7 separate regions of the Homo sapiens genome follow, and regions 2, 3, 4, 5, 6 and 7 are each linked to region 1. The links are contacts of gene promoters, found by promoter capture Hi-C in blood cells and fetal thymus (Javierre and others, 2016). All regions are on one chromosome and are shown on one strand. The core of a region is centred on a gene start or on the middle of the fragment in contact, and the rest is flanking DNA. Distances in the headings are between cores, read along the strand shown. Region 1 holds the start of CDCA8 (cell division cycle associated 8). Region 2 overlaps MRPS15 (mitochondrial ribosomal protein S15). Region 3 has its middle 6.6 kb from the start of CSF3R. Region 4 overlaps LOC124904012 (a long non-coding RNA gene). Region 5 overlaps GJA9 (gap junction protein alpha 9). Region 6 overlaps OSCP1 (organic solute carrier partner 1). Region 7 overlaps AKIRIN1 (akirin 1).

Region 1 (2,700 bases), core at 103-2,602:
TGCATATGGAGCAACAGACCAGGGTGGAAGAGAGAGAAAGGACTTTCCAGGAAGGTCCAGGCTTGCCAGGACTTCTATGCTTGGACTGCTCTGTCCCCAAGCTCGCTGGTGCCCATCAGGAGCCTGCTTGGCACCTTTGCTTATTTCTTCGATTGTTCCTCAACTCAGAGGGGGAGAGGCAAGATTATCACTCCCATAGCCTATAACATGCACGCTTAAACACAACCCCTCTGACATGGCTTCAGACCGCATCCACAGGTGAAAAGCACCAAATCCAAACAATCAGGCCACAAACCCGTCAAGAGCTCGCCGGTCTGGCCGTCCAGTCGCCGCCCGCCTTGAGACTCAGCCTGAGCTACAGCTTCGAAACTAGCCTCTAGCCTTCTGGGTCTCAGCACAACTCTTGAGCAATCCAACCCTGTGGCCGTGGGCAGATACCAAGATGCACAGTTAGCACCTCCGACAGGACCGCGGCTCGGCGGGGCTCGCCGTCTACACGCCCATTCCCAGGCCCACGGCCACGACACCCAGAGCTGCCTCCTGCCCTGGGCTCCCTGGAGCCTGGTGGCCGCGGCTCATGCTGCAGTCACCGTGTGGCCAGCTGCCAAGCGCCACTACTTGCACCTGAAGTCGCAGCCCCGCGCTGCGCACCCAGTCGAGGCGCCAACACGCGAACTGGGCGGGAGTGGCCGGCCCGCGGGGGAGCGAGGAACGACAGGGTTCCCCCCACTCGCTGCCCAGACTGGCCGCGGGATAGCGCGCCCCCCCCAAAGCCTGCACCCCTGCCCTGCTCCTCTATCATTCCGTCCCCCTTGCTCTGTCAAACCCTGCCGGGGCTGCTCTGTCTCTGCCGACCCGCCACTTGCCCGAAGTTCGGCCTGAGGAGCTTGGGGCCCTGAGGAGCGCCGACGTAGGCAGCCAGCCAGTCAATCAGTCAGAGGGTCACGGCGGCCCCTCGGCTACTCAGTGGCAGCCAGGCCAGAAAGAAGCAGCCGCCAACCCTGGAGCAGAATCCTACAGCCGACCTGACCTAGTAGGCCCCCAGCCCTCCAGAGCTTGGGGTATTGCAGAGCCGCCACAAGGCCTGCCGGGAGTAGTAGTTTGTATAGTTCGCAGCCGGCCAGGGCGGAGCCGGGTGGGTTGGTGGGGAGGGCGGGGAAACAAGCCTGGACCACAACTCCCAGGAGTACCCGCGACGGCGGCGGCCTCGCTGTCGCACTCAGGCTATAGGGGGCGCATTGGGCGGAAGACCCTGGGCCGGCAGGAACTTGCTTGTGATTGGATGTTGTGGGACGGCGGCTTCTCATTCGTCAGCCTGTGACTGTGGAGTTTGAATTGGGTGGCGGTTGACTGTAGAGCCGCTCTCTCTCACTGGCACAGCGAGGTTTTGCTCAGCCCTTGTCTCGGGACCGCAGGTACGTGCCTGGCGACTTCTTCGGGTGGTCCCCGTCCGCCCTCCTCGTCCCTACCCAGTTTCTTGCTTCCCTGCCCCATCTCCGCCGCTCCCCGCAGCCTCCGCCGAGCGCCATGGCTCCTAGGAAGGGCAGTAGTCGGGTGGCCAAGACCAACTCCTTACGGAGGCGGAAGCTCGCCTCCTTTCTGAAAGACTTCGACCGTGAAGGTAAGGGGCCAGGCCGTCGCGGCCTCCTGGGGCGGTCGCGGGATGCTGGCGGGTGGGGACACGAGCTGCACAGATTCGCCCGCCCGTGACCCGTGTCCTGTCGGCTCTGCCCTCCCGCAGTGGAAATACGAATCAAGCAAATTGAGTCAGACAGGCAGAACCTCCTCAAGGAGGTGGATAACCTCTACAACATCGAGATCCTGCGGCTCCCCAAGGCTCTGCGCGAGATGAACTGGCTTGACTACTTCGGTAAGAGCTGGAGAGCTTCCCTGGGCGGAGGCCAGGAGCCCCTTGGGGTTAGGTGACACCCTTCAGAAAGGGCTCGCTCAGATGTCACCTTTTAATGAGATCTGACATGACCACTTATGGAAAATTGCAGACCCTTTCACTCTCTGTCTCACTTCCCTACTTCATTTTTCTCTATGAAAAATGGGGGGGTGGTTGGGGGGCGGCGGGCGGGGCGGTCTCTGTCGGACAACTCAGCTCTGCTGTTTACAGGTCCAAAACAGCTGTAGTGAATGGGCATGGATGGGCTGTATTCCAATAAAATTTTAGTTATGGATACACTGAAATGTGAATTTCACATAATTTTCACACATCAGGAAATTTATTTAATTTTTTTTAAACAGAGTCTCACTCTGTCACCCAGGCTGGAGTGCAGTGCAGTGCAGTGGTGCGATCCCTGCTCACTGCAACCTCCACCTTCTGGGTTCAAGTGATTCTCCTGCCTCAGCCTCTGGAGTGGCTGGGATTACGGTCGCCTGCCACCATGCCCCGCTGATTTTTGTATTTTCAGTAGAGACGGGGTTTCACCATGTTGGCCAGGCTGGTCTCGAACTCCTGACCTCAAGTGATCCACCTACATAGGCCTCCCAAAGTGCTGGGATTACAGGAGTCAGCCACTGCGCCCGGCCAGAAAATAGTATTTTTAAAAATATATGTATATTTTACCCATTTAAAAATGAATGAATAAATGACATGGTTAGTTAACCAGAGCTCAGATAGAAGAATAACCCGAAGCAGCTCCTTCTGCAGCTTATGGAAATTGCTAACCTAAAAATGGGCGCATCAGGCTGGGC
Region 2 (2,700 bases), core at 99-2,598, 1.2 Mb before region 1:
CAGGCGCCCGCCACCATGCCCGGCTAATTTTTTGTATTTTTAGTAGAGACGGGGTTTCACCGTGTTAGCCAGGATGGTCTTGATCTCCTGACCTTGTGATCCACCTGCTTGGCCTCCCAAAGTGCTGGGATTACAGGCGTGAGCCACCGCGCCTGGCCTAGTCTTACTATTATTATCACACATCGTGAGCTTTAGTTTCCAAGGTGTGTTTACATCCCCTAGCTGCCTCTCACAATGCTGCCATGAGGTGGGTAACATTACCTCTGCTCTGCTCTCCCTTATTCCCCCATTTCCAGATGAGGAAGCAGGGGCTCCAAGAGAGGGTTGGTGACTTACCCAAGCTCACACAGTGGTACAAGGTCCAACTGGGTGTTGACTCCAGCATCAGAGCTTGGGATACAGGGTCCAATTTTCATTGCCCTAGGTCCTTCATGTCTCTCCCTTTCCCCAGCCCATGTGCATGTGCTTGTAGACAAGAGCCCTAGATCAGGTCCCAGCTAGCAGGCTTCCCTACACCCCCACTCCCCAAGGGTCCCCGACCAACTTCGAGCCTCCAGGGATCTGGTGTCCTCTGGGTTTGCAACAATCTTCTTCATAAACTGTTCTTGCTTGATTTTTAGCATCTCCTTCTGTTGAAGACAGAGACAGAGAAAATCTGTGGAGTCTGCCACCCTCTAAGAACTAGCCCTCCTCCCCCCAAGGGCCCTGGCTACAGTTATAGCAACTAGGGCCATAAGGCTCAGGGCCTGACTTCACTCTGCTCACTGTGGCCTTGACCAACCACATGGCTATCCACATCCAGGTGAGCCCAAAGCCAAAGCCACTGACAGAGGAAATGACTTGTTGCATGAATGTCCCCAAAGCTTGCTCATTCATTTATGCTCATTCATTCATTCACTGAGCACCTGTTTGTCAGGTGCTAGGGGTATGGTGGGGGAACAAAAGTGTCCCTGCCCTGAAGATGCTCTGTCTAGGGATATTGACAAATGGAGGCAGAATGACAGTGGGCTAAGTGCTGTGACTGGAGAAGCATGAGATGCGGGGTGCTAATCAGGGTAGAAGGGAGTCCCAGAGGAGAAGACTGCGGGAGGCTGAGGCTTGGCAGAGGCTGCTCACCTTGTTGGCCATTTCCAAAGACAAGAGTCTTTTCACGACATCATCAACCCTGTGGATAAACCACAGCAATGAGACAGACATTGGGGGAGAAGAGAGGAAAGCAATGCTGGTTTCATTTTAGTTTGAAAAGCAAAGATGATTGAAAAATTCCTTCTGTAGCAAATGAATCTCCCTGGAGGTGGGGAGCCATTTCCCAGGGATTAAAAGTCAGTGTGGATCTGGCTTGCTGGGCTGAAACTACAGAAACTGGGGCTGTCAGCTCGACTGTTCCGGTCTCATCACAGGGAGGGCAAGGAGAGGATTTCCATTTTAGCTACAACATGGTTCAATCTGTTTTGAGACATTTCAAGTTAAATTGCACAGTGGGAGGGACTGACCAGCTCCCACCACACTGCATAGGAGCTGAGCAGAGGGCCTCTGGCTTTGGTGTCAGTCAGCCCTGGATTCAAACTCTAGCTCTGCCCTTTAGAACTGTATGACACTGGACAGCTTGAAAATCTATAAAATGGGGACATACAGCTTTTGTGAGGAACAAGAGATGAGAGATTTCTACAAAGACCTGTGAAGTATGTTAGCTCCTTGGAATCTAGTGGTACAGGGTGTTCATCTAGAGTACAAAAAAACCCCCAAGTAGCCGAGCTCCATGAGTGCCATCTGCCTTGCTGACCACCCACCCTCACCACACCTGGACACCTGGGCCCCTGCCTCCTTCTAGATCAAGCTTCAGCTACAGCAAGCCAAGTCTCAAAGCCACTGTCTTTCCCCACTCCCCGACAATCCTCCCAGGGCCCCCTGCCTCCTCTACTAGGTTTCTTCCTGCTTACTTCTCAATTCCAGGGACATTCTGGTAGTCTTTGAGCAGCGTAGAGGGAGGTGGGTCATCATCCAGCCTAGACTGGGCTGTCAAGTAAATATGGGGATAGAAAACACCCAGAGTCAACTCTCGCTGCCCACCCTCCCAGACCTGGCTCTTTTCACCCACTCTCCAACTCCAGAAGGGACATTCAGGGTCTCAAGCAAAGCACTGGATATCTCTCGGCTCAGTTTCTCCTTTGCAAACTCCGTGGGCACCTGCTTTGATATTTCATGTTGCGAGTAGGTGGCTTTTCCCAAGACCCTACACTGTGCCTGCACCTTTCACACACCTATCTGGCTCTACAGTTCTCAGATCCCCCACTAGGATGGGTCCTCCTGTGGATAGGACAGAGTTTGACTCCCTTGGAATCCACCATAGTCTGGCCCATGGCTCAGCCTAGACTAGGCACTCAACAAACACTTGCTGGCTGACTGCATGTATGAATTAAGGGGGTTGAGGAAAGGCAGCTAGCTGTACGATGCCTGAAATGTAAGCACCAAGTAGAGATCACAGGAAAACCTCAGTCTTGGTGTGTGCACCCCTGCTATCCCTTGGAGATGAGGAAGAGGCATAGAGTAGATGGACTTATCCTCTCCAGTCAGACCCTGCTATGCAAATAACATTAATGGGCCTCTTCTGTCTGTAACAGCTCAAGTTGATTCTGATAGGGAGGCAGAAAAGAATTATATTAAAAATATATTAATAGCAATAAATTCTACTTATTTTAT
Region 3 (2,700 bases), core at 190-2,689, 1.2 Mb before region 1:
CCTGGGAATGACGGTGGTGGTGGTGGTGGGGAGGGAAGGCCTGCATTCTAGACCCACAGATGATATTGATGCTGCATGACCCTGAGTAGCACCTCATAGTCCTGCCTCTCAGACCCCCAGCTCCCCTTGAAGCTCCACACACATCAAAACTAAACACGCCTCCCAGCTGAGCTCCTCCATGTTTTCTCCTAAAAACCTGCTTTTCTGTCCTGGTGAATCCAGAAACTTAAACTGGTCCTGAACACCTCCCTGCTGGTCACCCCCTACATCCAGTCTGTCGCTCCTTCCAGTGCGATTTGTCCCTTCTCTCCCACCTTATGGCCCCTGCAGGAAGCCAGTCCATCATTGTTGTCTCCTTGGATGACGTCTCGGCTTCCTCCTGGTCTCCCTGCCTTCATTCCTGGGATACACCCTTGCTATACTTAGCTGGAGTGCTTCTTCCAAATTGTGAATTCCAGTATGTCACCACCCAACAGAAAATTGGCTGGACGCTGTGGCTCATGCCTGTAATCCCAGCACTTTGGGAGGCCAAGGCAGGTGGATCACCTGAGGTCAGGAGTTCGAGACCAGCCTGGCCAACATGGTGAAACCCCATCTCTACTAAAAATACAAAAATTAGCCAGGCGTGGTGGTGGGCACCCGTAATCCCAGCTATTCGGGAGGCTGAGGCAGGAGAGTCACTTGAACCCGGGAGGTGGAGGTTGCAGTGAGCTGAGACCATGCCACTGCACTCCAGTGTGGGTGACAAAAGCAAAACTCCTTCAAAAAATAAAAAAAAAAGGCATCCATCCATTGGTTCCTCGCTGTCCATGGGCTAAATTTCTAAGTCTTCCTCATGTCCTTTGAGGCCCTTCAAAACCAGACCCTGAAGGGGTGGCCTGCCCCTCCACACCTGTGGGTGTTTCTCATCGGACTGACAAAAGAGAGAGACACAGAAACAAAGTATAGAGAAGGAAAAGTGGGCCCAGGGGACTGGTGCTCCAGAGGACCCGCGAAGGCACGGGTCTCTGAGTTCCCTCAGTATTTATTGATCATTATCTCTACCATCTCTGAGAGGGGGTTGTGGCAGGACAGTAGGGTAATAGTGGGGAGAGGGTCAGCAGGAAAACATGTGAACAAATGTCTCTGTATCATAAATAAGGTTAAGAAAAAGGTGCTGAGCTTTGATGTGCACATACATAAACATCTCAATGCATTAAAGAGCAGTATTGCCACCAGCATGTCTCACCTCCAGCCTTAAGGCGGTTTTCTCCTATCTCAGTAGATGGAACATACAATCGGGTTTTACACCGAGACATTCCATTGCCCAGGGAGGAGCAGGAGACAGATGTCTTCCTCTTATCTCAACTGCAAAGAGGCCTTCCTCTTTTACTAATCCTCCTCAGCACAGACCCTTTACAGGTGTCGGGCTGGGGGACGCTCAGGTCTTTCCCTTCCCACGAGGCCATATTTCAGACTATCACATGGGGAGAACCCTTGGACAATACCTGGCTTTCCTAGGCAGAGGTCACTGTGGCCTTCTGCAGTGTTTTGTGTCCCTGGGTACTTGAGATTAGGGAGTGGTGATGACTTTTAACAAGCATGCTGCCTTCAAGCATTTGTTTAACAAAGTGCATCCTGCATAGCCCTAAATCCATTAAACCTTGAGTCGACACAGCACATGTTTCTGTGAGCACAGGGTTGGGGGTAGGGTTACAGATTAACAGCATCTCAAGGCAGAAGAATTTTTCTTAGTACAGAACAAAATGGAGTCTGTTATGTCTACCTCTTTCTACATAGACACAGTAACAGTCTGATCTCTCTTTCTTTTCCCAACATTTTCCCCTTTTCTTTTAGACAAAAACACCATTGTCATCATGGCTTGTTCTCGATGGTCGCTGTCTCTTCGGAGCTGCTGGGTACACCTGCAGACTGGGGCCTGCCTCTGGGGAAGGATTAATATGAAATTTACAATAGTAGTACTTCCGATGGTCTTAACCCACGTGACAGGGTTAAGATTTGTGAGGCCATCAGCAACTCCCGCGATTACCTCAGTTCCTGGTACCAAATTTAAATGGGCTTTTGATGCTTCGAAAATTTGTTCTTTTAATTTGGAAATGTCTAAAGTGGGATTATCTTCTCTTCCCTGCAGATGGCGTCTAACCATGTCCCAGTGATGCTCAGACTCATTATAAACTCGGGGTGTAATACAAAAATCTGATGTATCCCAGTCACACTGTAACTGGAAACGATGTTCTAGGCTCATGAGCCTATCTCCCATCAGGATTATCCATCCATGTGACTGCCTGAATTAAGGGCGGGAAAGGCACATAGGCCCAGTAGGTATAATTAGCTGCAGCTGCTCCTGCAGGCATGGGGAGACTTACCACAGTTGATACAATCATCAAAGCTGCAAGCAGCATGTTCTCTGGAGTTTGTGTCACCTTTGTGTTCTCTAGGCTTTTTTTTTTTTAGTTAACTGTGTCAGCTTCTTTAATTGTGCCCAAGTCGGCGCCTCCACCTTCTTGGTGGATGGCAACTTCATCTGTTCTTCTGACATCACCATTCTGTTCATCTTGTGAGTTGATGGTGCTTGATTGCAGTGTCTCCGTCTCCGTGGAGGCGCTTTTCTTTGCATCTCCAATGGGTTCATTGTAGAACTTCAAATGTCTAGTGGGTATCCAAACAGGAAGCTGATTTTCTCCTGGTGAAACACAAGCA
Region 4 (2,700 bases), core at 82-2,581, 1.3 Mb before region 1:
AAGTCACAAAACCCTCTGGAGAAATGGCTGCATGCTGCATTTTGGACAAACAGGGCCTAACTCACCTAAGACTCAAGAATTTCCTAGGCCTAACATGGCCTGGGGAAAGCAGAAAAACAAAACAAAACAAAACAAAACTCTGCACACCTGAGAGGGGTATGGGTTACACTTGGAGGGGTCTTTTGGTGGGGGGATGGGGAGCAACTCAGCAGCAACCTTCATGGGCTGATGACAAAAGGTCACAACCAGATGAGAACATCTCAGTGGATGCTAGTGTGACTGGATGACCAAATCAGACTATGCTTCCCATGCTTTGGCACCTTGAAAGGAAGAGCCCTAGAATTCCAACAGAATGCCAAGGAAAATGGGGGAACTGTGAATTGACCGCAATTAACTTTCTGCCACTCTGGCTGAGTAGGGCAAAATACAGGAATTCAAGTGAGTTAAAGAAAATTCAAGTTCTGTTTCTTGCACACCAGAAACTGGAACCAGCTACACTCTGTCCACAGGCCTTGTGTCATATGCCCCACCCCCTCCCATTTCTCCACTCTCATCTGCCTCCCTCTCCCCCAATAGCCACAGTGTTACTATTATTGTCCCAAATCCCCAAGCTTTCCCATCCCAGGACCTTTGCACAGGCAGTTTCCTCTGCCTTGTCCTGGCTTTTTAAATGACAGGCTTCTTCTCAGTTTAACTACTTTCCTGCTGGGTGGGGTGGCTCAAGCCCTTAATCCCAGTGACTGGGGCCAAGGCAGGAGGATTGCTTGAGGCCAGAAGTTTGAGACCAGCCTGGACAACATAGTGATACCCTGTCTCTTAGGGAAAAAAAAAAAAGTTACGAAATTAAGACACCACAGGTGTGTGGTGGCATGCACCTGTAGTTCCAGCTACTTGGAAGGCTGAGGCTTGAGCCCAGGAGTTCAAAGCTGCAGTGAGCCATGATCGCACCACTGCTCTCTTGCCTGGGCAACAGAGCAAGACTCCCTGTCTAAAAAAAAAAGATTTCACTTCCTCAGACTACATTTTCCAAAATAAAACTACCTGTTATTGTCTCTCAAAAGGCCCTGTTTATTTCCTTCAGGGCACCTGTAAATATTTTTACTTTTTTAGTTTATCTGTTTCCCTCACTAGAATGTTCACTTCCTGAGGCAAGACCCTTGTTCATCTTGATGTTCCCCAGTTGCTACCACTGTGCCTGGTACATAGCTGGTGCTCAAGAATGACCTGTGGAATGGCTGACCAGTGGCAGTTGGGGAGTTCCTGGCTTCCCACAGGCTGGTGGGCACTGGGCTCTCTCAACCCCTTCCTGGGCCCCTGATAGCCTTTTCCAGCAAGCCAAGACCAGATTACAAAAGACCCACCTTTGGGGTTTAAAGTCTCAGCTGTGCTCTAACCGAGGGGCTTGGCAAAAATGTGTCTCTGCAGGGCCTGGTTCCCCTCATTATCATCTGTCTTCCCAAGACCTTGCCTAGGAATGACAGAGGGCCACTGGGGTCTGGCACATGACACTTAAGGAACATGTCTTGAGCCTGTCTTCTCAGCAACCCACACTAGCCTTACTGCTTCCCTTGCTGCTCTGCTGAGGACGGAGAAGCCCTTGGTGTGCCATCACAGCCTCAGAGCTCGACCTTTCCTGCATCCCTAAGCCGAACCCCCAGCTAAGCCCTCTTCCATTTCTCACACACGGGCACACATGTGGGAGAGGTCTGCAAGGGAAGCTGCTGTGGGACTCCCACCAGTTCCTCATCTCTCTCCCCACTTGCGAGGGTATGGTGACGTTCCCACAGCGAAGGCCTTCCCTCTGCACCTGCCCTCTGGTTTCTCTTTCCAGCAGTCACTTTGTGGTGTCAGTCAGTCCTCTTAACTCCAGTTGTCAGAGGGGCCGGAAAATTCAGAAGTTTTCTCTGCTAGGACCCTCCGTTCTCCCTGAAGGCAAAGGGCAGAGTTAAGGGGATTCTAGACCTGTAGGCAATAAAATAAATACAGTATGCAAAAGAATCACGGTGGATGGGTGGATGTGAATGCAGATTCCTGGGTGCTAGACTCCAATTCAAGCTTGGGTAAGGAGGAGCCAGGTAAGTGCATTTCCTACACACATCCCAGTTGGTCCTGATGAGGTGGTCTGCAGACAACACCTGACACAGACTGAACTCGAATGTGAATGCAGTGCCCTTGGGCTGCTAACGTCCACATGAACATTCCTCTCAAATCTCCCTCAAGAATGGTAGCATCTTAAGGTCAGGGGCCCTGCTTTATTCAAAACTCTCTGCCACAGCAGTTCTCAAGCTGGATTTCATCTTTGGTTTTTTTTTTTTTTTTTTTTTTTTTGAGACAGTCTCACTCTGTTGCCCAGGCTACAGTGCCATGGCGTGATCTTGGCTCACTGCAACCTCTGCCTCCTGGGTTCAAGCAATTCTTGTGCCTCAGCCTCCTGGGTAGCTGGGACTACAAGCGCATGCCACCACGCCCGGCTAATTGTTCTATTTTCAGTAGAGATGGTGTTTCACCATGTTGGCCAGGCTGGTCACAAACTCCTGGCCTCAAGTGATCCATCAGCCTCAGCCTCCCAAAATACTGAGATTACAGGCGTGAACCACTGTGTTCAGCCTCATCTTTGTTTTCTTTGACCACCTCCCCCACTAGGATATAAGCTCCGATGCAAAAAGGTTCAAATCTCACCTGATAATGTGTGCTTGGCCA
Region 5 (2,700 bases), core at 103-2,602, 1.2 Mb after region 1:
TCGATTATATTTGGACACGGGTGGCCATGGCACTTAAATAGCGGCTCTAAGTGAAATCCATATAAAAGGTACTGTCCAATCATGAATCCAACTTCAACCACAGAGCGAGTGAAAATGTGTATCACATAAGTGCAAAGCAAGGTTCCTCTGAGTGGAGCTTTATTTAGTTTCCTTTTCTCCAGCTGACAAAGCTCTTGCTCCAATCTCCTCCGATCCCTAGGCATTTCAAACTCTACCTCCTCCAGTTCTACTCTTAACTGAGCTTTCATCCTTTGCCTCTCTTCCTCAAGAACTCTCAGTCGGTACAATGCATGGCCCATGTAGACCAGGGATGGTGAAGACACAAATATCACCTGCAGAACCCAGTATCTAATGAGGGAGATAGGAAAGGCCTGGTCGTAGCATACATTTCTGCAGCCTGGTTGTTCTGTATTGCAGATGAAGCCAGACTGCTCATCATTCCAGACATCTTCAGCTGCTACACCCAGAACAAGCATTCGAAATATGAACAGGATGGTGAGCCAGATCTTTCCAATCATGGTGGAGTGGATGTGAACTTCCTCCAGAGTATCTCCAAGGAGATTCCAGTCCCCCATGTTTATTTAGTCAGCCATCTTAGCTCTGATCCACATCAAATAAGAGGCAGATAAATTCTTCCATTCTGAAGGGAGCACTATTTCTTAAAGCAAACCTATGGTGAAAATATAACAATATGTCACTTCTATATGCTGGTTGCTTTACTTTTTCCCTAGATAGCTGTGGGGTTTTTTCTTTGTTTGTTTGTTTGTTGAGACAGAGTCTCCCTCTGTTGCCCAGGCTGGAGTACAGTGTTGCAACCACAACTCCCTGCAGCCTCAACCTCCCAGACTCAAGCGATCATCTCCCCTCTCAGCCTCCTGAGTAGCTGGGACTGCAGGTGTGTGCAACTACACCCAGATAATTTTTTTTATTTTTTTGTAGAGACAGGGTCTCACTCTATTGCTGCAGCTAGTCTTAAACTCCTAGACTCAAGTGATCCTCTTGCCTTCACCTCCCAAAGTGTGGGAATTACAGGTGTGGGTCACCACACCTGGCCAAAGTGTGAATCTGTTACCAATAATATACTTAAATGTCAGGAATTTAAAATCACTTATATTTAGACATCACAATACAATGAAAAAAACATGATACCTGGAGGAGGAGTGTATATATTCTCTATTAAGAATATAGGCTGGGCGGGGTGGCTCACACCTGTAATCCCAACACTTTGGGAGGCCAAGGTGGGTGGATCATTTGAGGTCAGGAGTTCCAGACCAGCCTGGCCAACATGGTAAAACCCCGCCTCTACTAAAAATACAAAAATTAGCCAGGCGTGGTGGCAGGCGCTTGTAGTCCCAGCTACTCGGGAGGCTGAGGCAAGAGAATCGCTTGAACCTGGAAGGCAGAGGTTGCAGTGAGCTGAGATCAAACCCTTGACCTCAGATGATCTGGCCACCTCGGCCTCCCAAAGTGCTGGGATTACAGGCATGAGCCAATGCGCATGGCCTAAAATTATATTCTTTTTTTTTTTTTTTTTGAGACGGAGTCTCACTCTGTAGCCCAGGCTGGAGTGCAATGGCATGATCTCAGCTCACCGCAACCTCCACCTCCTGGGTTCAAGCGATTCTCCTGCCTCAGCCTCCTGAGTAGCTGTGATTACAGGCATGCACCACCATGCCCGGATAATTTTGTATTTTTAGTAGAGATGATGTTTCTCCATGTTGGCCAGGCTGGTCTCGAACTCCTGACCTCAGGTGATCTGCCCACCTCGGCCTCCCAAAGTGCTGGGATTACAGGCGTGAGCCACCATGCCCAGCCTATTGTTGTTTTTCAACAGAACTTTTGGAAAGGTTTCTAAAACTAGTAACCTGATCTTAACCTTATTTATTAAGATTATTTGATATAAAAGTTATAACAAAGTCAATTTCTTTTTCCCCAACATGCCATTACTGGCTTGAAAAGTCAGTGATTTTTTTTTCTTTCTTTCTTTCTTTTGGGACAGAGTCTTGCTCTGTCGCCAGGCTGGAGTGCAGTGGCGCAATCTCGGCGCATTGCAACCTCCGCCTCCTGGGTTCAAGCGATTCCCCTGCCTCATCCTCCTGAGTAGCTGGGATTACAGGCGCCTGCCAACACCCCCCGGGATAATTTTTTGTATTTTAGTAGACACGGGGTTTCACCATGTTGGCCAGGATGATCTCGATCTCCTGACCTCGTGATCCACCCGCCTCAGCCTCCCAAAGTGCCAGGATTACAGGCATGAGCCACCGTGCCCGGTCAAAAAGTCAGTGATTTTTAAATCTCATTTATACACATAGGAAAACGAATATGCTTCATTTGATAATTCAGTAAGATATGGCATTCAGTGAAACCAGAGGAAACAGATCTGGCTGTCATAGGAATTTAGATTAGTTTTTTTAATCCAAATTGAAATAAATTTGAAATAAATTCTGGTTTCTTCCTGGCAATTGGTGAACATTTTCAGAAATTCATCTCAGTAATATTTATGAATATGTATAAAGTACTTATTATACTTTACTATGAAAAAGTATACTTTTTTTCTTTTTTTTTGGTGGGGGGAGACAGAGTCTCACTCTGTTGCCCAGACTAGAGTGCAGTGGCAGGATCTCAGCCCACTGCAACCTCCACTTCCCAGGTTCAAGTGATTCTCGTGCCTGAGCCTGC
Region 6 (2,700 bases), core at 46-2,545, 1.2 Mb before region 1:
CTGGTGATGGAGCTGAAATTAGAATTAGGTCTGTTTGATTTAATGCCTGTGCTTTTAAATATTATTATTATTATTATTATTTTTGAAGTGGAGTCTCGCTCTGTCGCCCAGGCTGGAGTGCAGTGGCAAGATCTCGGCTCACTGCAACCTCTGCCTCCCAGGTTCAAGTGATTCTCCTGCCTCAGTCTCCCAAGTAGCTGGGATTATAAGTGCCCACCACCATGCCCAGGTAATTTTTGTATTTTTAGTAGAGACAGGGTTTCACCATGTTGGCCAGGCTGGCCTCGAACTCCTGACCTCAAGTGATCCTCCTGCCTCAGATTCCCAAAGTGCTGGGATTACAGGTGTGAGCCACTGCACCTGGCCTCTTAAATATTATACAGGTTGTCTTCCCAGCATACTTGGTGTGGTGAGAGCATTTAAAATATTGAGGAGGATGGCTGATGATAGGCACACACCACACCCAAATGTCAAATGACAGAAGGTATCTGAGATTTATTTAAAGGCTGAGAAAGTCTAAGGCTTTATTCTGAGGAGTCGACAACTTTTTCAGGTTTCCTGCTTGCAGTAGGTAAGGGGAAACTGAAGCTTTTGCATGATGAGGCCACACTGCATGCATGATGTCATGCCTTCTGCCCACAGTCCTGGCAGCCATGCAGTTACATGCTTCAATTTTTCTCGGTTGCTCTGTGAGCTTAGGAGAATGGCTCAGGGAGGGTCACTCATGTTGAAGCACAATTCTTTGGTTACATGACAAAACAAAGTTGTTTTAAGGACTACCAAATAGGATGACATACCCCAAAGTATGGCTATTGCCCCAGCTGTCCCAGCAAAGCTTGGAACTGAGAAAAGGAGACATATCCCTCAAGTACAGTGTGGCTTTTTGGTCAGAGTTTGCTTAGTTTTCATCTTAACATGCTGTATTTCTTCCTCTTAAGTAAAAGATTCAAATGTATAACCAATATCTCAGCTAAAGACAAACTCATGCCTATTTTCTTACTTTGACTTTGAAATGTTTCAAGCGGTCCCATTTTAAGCCCTGCTGATAAAGGCCTGAGTGAACCTGTGGATGCACACTGAACACATGCAGCCCGGAGATAGCATACCTCGTTTTCTGTCCACCTCTGTCCATTCATCTACATGAAGCATACAAAAAGAAAACACCAGTTCATGAAGCAAGAACATTATTTTCAAGGAGGCTTTAAACATACCAATTCCAATGATCTTATCTATGAAACTTTACTTTTCACGTTGGCATTTAATGTCTAATGTGAGCACACTGCCTTCTATTTGAAACCTTTAAAAGGATGATGGATAAACAACATATTTCAAAAAAGCTCAAGAAAGGCTATGTCTTACAGAGACTGGCCTAAGAAGAGAGTAAACTGAGGAGGATTAGCTATCCTGTGGTTCATCTTGAAAGGCCCAAGAAGCCCCGCTCTCTAATGCTACAAGAATACATATCATTCAGTAGTAGGCTTTTAAAGACGCTAGCCTCCATGAGGAAGAATAATTCCAAGAACAGGCAGAGAAAAGAGTTTCTTTGTATACAATCTGAGTTTTCTTTTCTTTTCTTTTTTTTTTATTAATGTAAGATTTCCCTTTCTAGAGGACAGATGGAACTGCTCAAATTAGAAAACTTGAAATGTGAATTAAAAGGAAAATGTCAGCATTTGTTTCTGTTTTACTTTTTATATATATAGATGCATGATTTCCATGTAAAAAGAAGCGAATAATGATGGGACCACTATGAAGAAAGCTTCTGAGGACAAAGGCAGCTGGGGAGATCCCAAGAGGAGACCAAATAAGGAAAAATGCAGTTGGCTAGAGAAATCGGTGAGAATCAAGACTCTATGGGTTGAAACCTGGCTCTACTTACTGGCTATATAAACTTCAAGCAACTTGTTTAACCTCAGTTTCCTTCGTAAAATAGGGATCATAATAGCACCTATCTTACAGGCCTATTGTGGGGATAAAGCATAACACACATCAAATACTTAGCTGGCTTCCCTTTGAGTTCTGTTTCCTCTACTGAGGGACATTAGACACCACCCATAAAGGATGGAAGATGACTTTTTTCCTTTCCTTAATTTTTGATGGAGATTTCAATCTAGAAGAACCACCCCTAGATAAAAAAGTTCTATACACATCTGTATTTCAAAAACATTTTGGCGAGGCACAGTGGCTCATGCCTGTAATCCCAGAACTTTGGGAGGCCAAGATGGGCGGATCACCTGAGGTCAGGAGTTCGAGACCAGCCTGGCCAACATGGTGAAACCTCATCTCTACAAAAAATACAAAAATTAGCTGGGTGTGGTGGTGCACACCTATAGTCTCAGCTACTTGGGAGGCTGAAGCAGGAGGATTGCTTGAACCCAGGAGGTGAAGGTTGCAGTGAGTGGAGACTACGCCACTGGGCGACAGAGCAACACTCCATCTCAAAAAACAAAAACAAACAAACAAAAACCCCAAAACCATTTTGTAATTAATAGTTTCTTTTGGAAACATTTGCCACTAGATTGTGGTATTAGGGGTGATTTCTGAAGTTATAATCAAAGTATACACATGGCTTCAATACATAATACCAAAAGCTCCCAAGAGAGCAGTCTGAAAGCATGGCCAGTGCCATGTCCTAACCGGCTGCAAAGGGTTTCCATTGCAAGATCACACTCCTCTGGGAAAATTCACCATCTTCCCCCA
Region 7 (2,700 bases), core at 99-2,598, 1.3 Mb after region 1:
GATCCGGCCATTGCACTCCATCCTGGGTGACAAGAGTGAAACTCCATCTCAAAAAAAAAAAAAAGCTAAAAAATTAGCTGGGCAATTTTTCTGAAATCCGAAATGCTGCAAAGTCTGAACTGATCCAAAAATTGAGTGTCAATATGACACTCAAAGGAAATACTTATTCACTGGAGTTTTTCTCATTTGGGGTAAGGGATGTTCAATTGGTAAGTATAATGCAACTATTCCACAATCCAAAACTTCTGTCTCAAGCATTTTGGATGAGGGATGCTCAATCTGTATGGTACTTTTTGTGGAAAGGTCCTGTAAAACTAAGCCTTTTATTGCTTAAATCTTTATTGAGTGCTAGGTGAATTCCAGACATGGAAGAAGGGGGTTGCTGACCGCAGGAAATATTTGTAAACGTAATGTGCAAAGCAATTAACTGATTATGACTTGAGAGTCTGAGAATAACTTCTGAATTAAGGTAGCATTTTAGCTGAGTCTTTTTTTGTTGTTTTTTGAGACAGAGTCACTCTGTTGCCCAGGCTGGAGTGTAGTGGCACGATCTTGGCTCACTGCAACCGCCGTCTCCCATGTTCAAGCGATTCTCCTGCCTCAGCCTCCCCAGTGGCTGGGATTACAGGCATGTGTCACTACGCTCGGCTAATTTTTTTTTTTTTTTTTTTTTTTTTTTTTTTTTTGAGATGACGTTTCGCTCTTGTTGCCCAGGCTGGAGTGCAGTAGCATGATCTCGGCTCACTGCAACTTCCACCTCCCAGACTCAAGCGATTCTCCTGCCTTAGCCTCCCAGAACGCTGGGATTACAGGCGCATGCCACCATTCTCAGCTAATTTTTGTATTTTTAGTGGAGATAGGGTTTCATCATACTGGTCAGGCTGGTCTCAAACACCTGACCTCAGGTGATCCGCCTGCCTCAGACTCCCAAAGTGCTGGGATTACAGGCATGAGCCACCACACCCGGCCTACTAATTTTTGTATTTTTTTTGTCAAGACAGGGTTTCACTGTATTGGCCAAGCTGGTCTCAAACTCCTGACCTCAGGTGATCTGCCCGCCTCGGCCTCCCAAAGTGCTGGGATTGCATGAGCCACTGCGCCTGGCTAGCTGAGTCTTGATCAAGTTTGAGCAATAGTCCCATTTCGAGCACAGGGAAACCATGAGAGCAAAGTCCAAAAAACCCACAATTTAAGGAGAGAATAATGTAATGTAACTAAATTATAGTGGAATCCAGATGGAACCAGGAAAATAAATTGAGGCCACATCTTGGAAAGTATTGACTGCCATGTTCAAGAGTTTGAATTTTGGTTTGTAGCAGTAGGAACACTGTAGAGTTTGGAGGATGGGCTTAGACCGGAAAAAATCTGGCAGCACAACCTCAAGTAATGGAGGGAAGGATTAAAATTATCCACTGTTAAAAAGAAATTTGAGTTTTTCTTTTTAAAAAAATTTTGTGCTTTATATGGCCTTCTACAGAAGAAAATCATGTCTAACTTTCTTATTTTTCTCCCATGGATACCGTGTTTAGATTCTTGGACTTCTTAGTCCTACCACCCTCAAAATTGTATCTTTCCATTTGTTAACATTGCCATACAGGAGGCAGAGGTTTATCAAAGACCTTCTGTTCTCTTAAGCGTTGTCCTCATACTTGTCCTTTCTTGTTTCAAGTATTTGCAGTTCTTATCCTTGTATTGGCTCTGGCTTGAGGAATAAGACATCTTAAAATACAGGGGGCTAGCGGTGGCTCACGCCTGTATTCCCAGCACTTTGGGAGGCCGAGGCGGGCGGATCAGCTGAGGTCAGGAGTTTGAGACCAGCCTGGCCAACATTGTGAAACTCTGTCTCTACTAAAAATACAAAAAATTAGGTGGGTGTGGTGGCGGGCTCCTGAAATCCAAACTACTCTGGAGGCTGAGGCAGGAGAATTGCTTGAACCTGGGAGGTAGAGGTTGCAGTGAACTGAGATTGTGCTATTGCACTACAGCCTGGGCGACAGGGTAAGACTCTCTTAAAAAATAAAGTGAGGTGAAAACTTAATAAATTCAGGAATCTAAAATACAAACTTCATAGCACTGTTTTGTTTTGTTTTTTGAGACAGTGTCTTACTCTGTTGCCCAGGCTGGAGTCCAATGGGGTGATCTCGGCTCACTGCAATCTCCACCTCCTGGGTTGAAGCAATTCTCCTGCCTCAGCCTCCCAAGTAGCTGGGATTACAGGTGCGCACCACCATGCCCAGCTAATTTTTGTATTTTTAGTAGAGATGGTTTCGCCATGTTGGTCAGGCTGGTCTCGAACCTCAGGTGATCCACCTGCCTAGGCCTCCCAAAGTGCTGGGATTACAGGCGTGAGCCACCATGTACAGGCTTTTTTTCTTTTTTTTAATACTGGGTCTCGTTATGTTGCCCAGGCTGGCCTCAAGTGATCCTCCCACCTTGGCCTTCCAAAGTGCTGGATTACAGGCATGAGCCACAGTGCCTGGCCCATAGCACTCTTGTTTTTTTGTTTTGTTTTTCTATTTTTTTTTTGAGGCAGAGTCTTGATTGTGTTTCCCAGGCTGGAGTGCAGTGGCACAATCTCGGCTCAGTGCAACCTCCACCTCCCCGGTTCAAGAGATTCTCCTGCCTCAGCTTCCTGAGTAGCTGGGACTACAGGCACGTGCCACCACGCCTGGCTAAATTTTTTTATTTTTAGTAGAGACG

What was found. Contacts are between HindIII fragments. The CHiCAGO score rates a contact against its expected background, and 5 or more counts as called.
Region 2: a contact is called between a fragment that was not itself captured here and the fragment with the promoter of CDCA8 in region 1, in 10 of 17 cell types (naive CD8 T cells, total CD8 T cells, fetal thymus and 7 more). The highest score is 16.7, in naive CD8 T cells.
Region 3: a fragment that was not itself captured here is called in contact with the fragment with the promoter of CDCA8 in region 1 in 2 of 17 cell types (M2 macrophages and neutrophils); the score reaches 6.8 in M2 macrophages.
Region 4: a fragment that was not itself captured here is called in contact with the fragment with the promoter of CDCA8 in region 1 in 5 of 17 cell types (fetal thymus, total B cells, total CD8 T cells and 2 more); the score reaches 7.8 in fetal thymus.
Region 5: a contact is called between a fragment that was not itself captured here and the fragment with the promoter of CDCA8 in region 1, in 12 of 17 cell types (fetal thymus, naive CD4 T cells, total B cells and 9 more). The highest score is 25.7, in fetal thymus.
Region 6: a contact is called between a fragment that was not itself captured here and the fragment with the promoter of CDCA8 in region 1, in 2 of 17 cell types (fetal thymus and total CD8 T cells). The highest score is 5.6, in fetal thymus.
Region 7: a contact is called between a fragment that was not itself captured here and the fragment with the promoter of CDCA8 in region 1, in 3 of 17 cell types (fetal thymus, erythroblasts and total B cells). The highest score is 9.8, in fetal thymus.

What each region holds. Positions count from the first base shown.
Region 1 is chr1:37,691,164-37,693,863 of GRCh38, forward strand. CDCA8 (cell division cycle associated 8) reads left to right here and starts at 1,353. Exons shown (of 10, transcript NM_001256875.2): 1 at 1,353-1,621; 2 at 1,742-1,870. The coding sequence starts at 1,528. It also overlaps a transcript of AIRIM not described here. RefSeq lists enhancers at 94-604, 605-1,114, 887-1,076, 1,115-1,625, 1,626-2,134 and silencers at 407-466, 487-656. The HindIII fragment of the contact is 4,527 bases long and covers 1-2,700 here.
Region 2 is chr1:36,460,148-36,462,847 of GRCh38, forward strand. MRPS15 (mitochondrial ribosomal protein S15) reads right to left here. Exons shown (of 8, transcript NM_031280.4): 3 at 1,941-2,016; 4 at 1,117-1,165; 5 at 545-629. Among named protein-coding and RNA genes, the nearest start is that of MRPS15, 2.9 kb to the right of the region's middle. The HindIII fragment of the contact is 974 bases long and covers 862-1,835 here.
Region 3 is chr1:36,488,118-36,490,817 of GRCh38, forward strand. No RefSeq gene overlaps it. Among named protein-coding and RNA genes, the nearest start is that of CSF3R, 6.6 kb to the left of the region's middle. The HindIII fragment of the contact is 3,716 bases long and covers 1-2,700 here.
Region 4 is chr1:36,389,679-36,392,378 of GRCh38, forward strand. It overlaps LOC124904012 (a long non-coding RNA gene), which reads left to right. Exons shown (of 2, transcript XR_007065779.1): 2 at 1-1,060. Among named protein-coding and RNA genes, the nearest start is that of STK40, 5.1 kb to the left of the region's middle. The HindIII fragment of the contact is 1,444 bases long and covers 610-2,053 here.
Region 5 is chr1:38,875,503-38,878,202 of GRCh38, forward strand. GJA9 (gap junction protein alpha 9) reads right to left here. Exons shown (of 2, transcript NM_030772.5): 2 at 1-691. The coding sequence starts at 596. It overlaps RRAGC-DT (RRAGC divergent transcript), which reads left to right. Exons shown (of 2, transcript NR_186075.1): 2 at 439-724. All of the region lies in intron 1 of GJA9-MYCBP (GJA9-MYCBP readthrough), which reads right to left. Among named protein-coding and RNA genes, the nearest start is that of MYCBP, 3.5 kb to the left of the region's middle. The HindIII fragment of the contact is 8,897 bases long and covers 1-2,700 here.
Region 6 is chr1:36,442,898-36,445,597 of GRCh38, forward strand. The region is part of intron 1 of OSCP1 (organic solute carrier partner 1); the gene reads right to left. It overlaps LOC107984940 (a long non-coding RNA gene), which reads left to right. Exons shown (of 3, transcript XR_001737976.2): 2 at 1,704-1,836. Among named protein-coding and RNA genes, the nearest start is that of OSCP1, 6.2 kb to the right of the region's middle. The HindIII fragment of the contact is 924 bases long and covers 834-1,757 here.
Region 7 is chr1:38,994,021-38,996,720 of GRCh38, forward strand. All of the region lies in intron 1 of AKIRIN1 (akirin 1), which reads left to right. Among named protein-coding and RNA genes, the nearest start is that of AKIRIN1, 4.1 kb to the left of the region's middle. The HindIII fragment of the contact is 5,767 bases long and covers 1-2,700 here.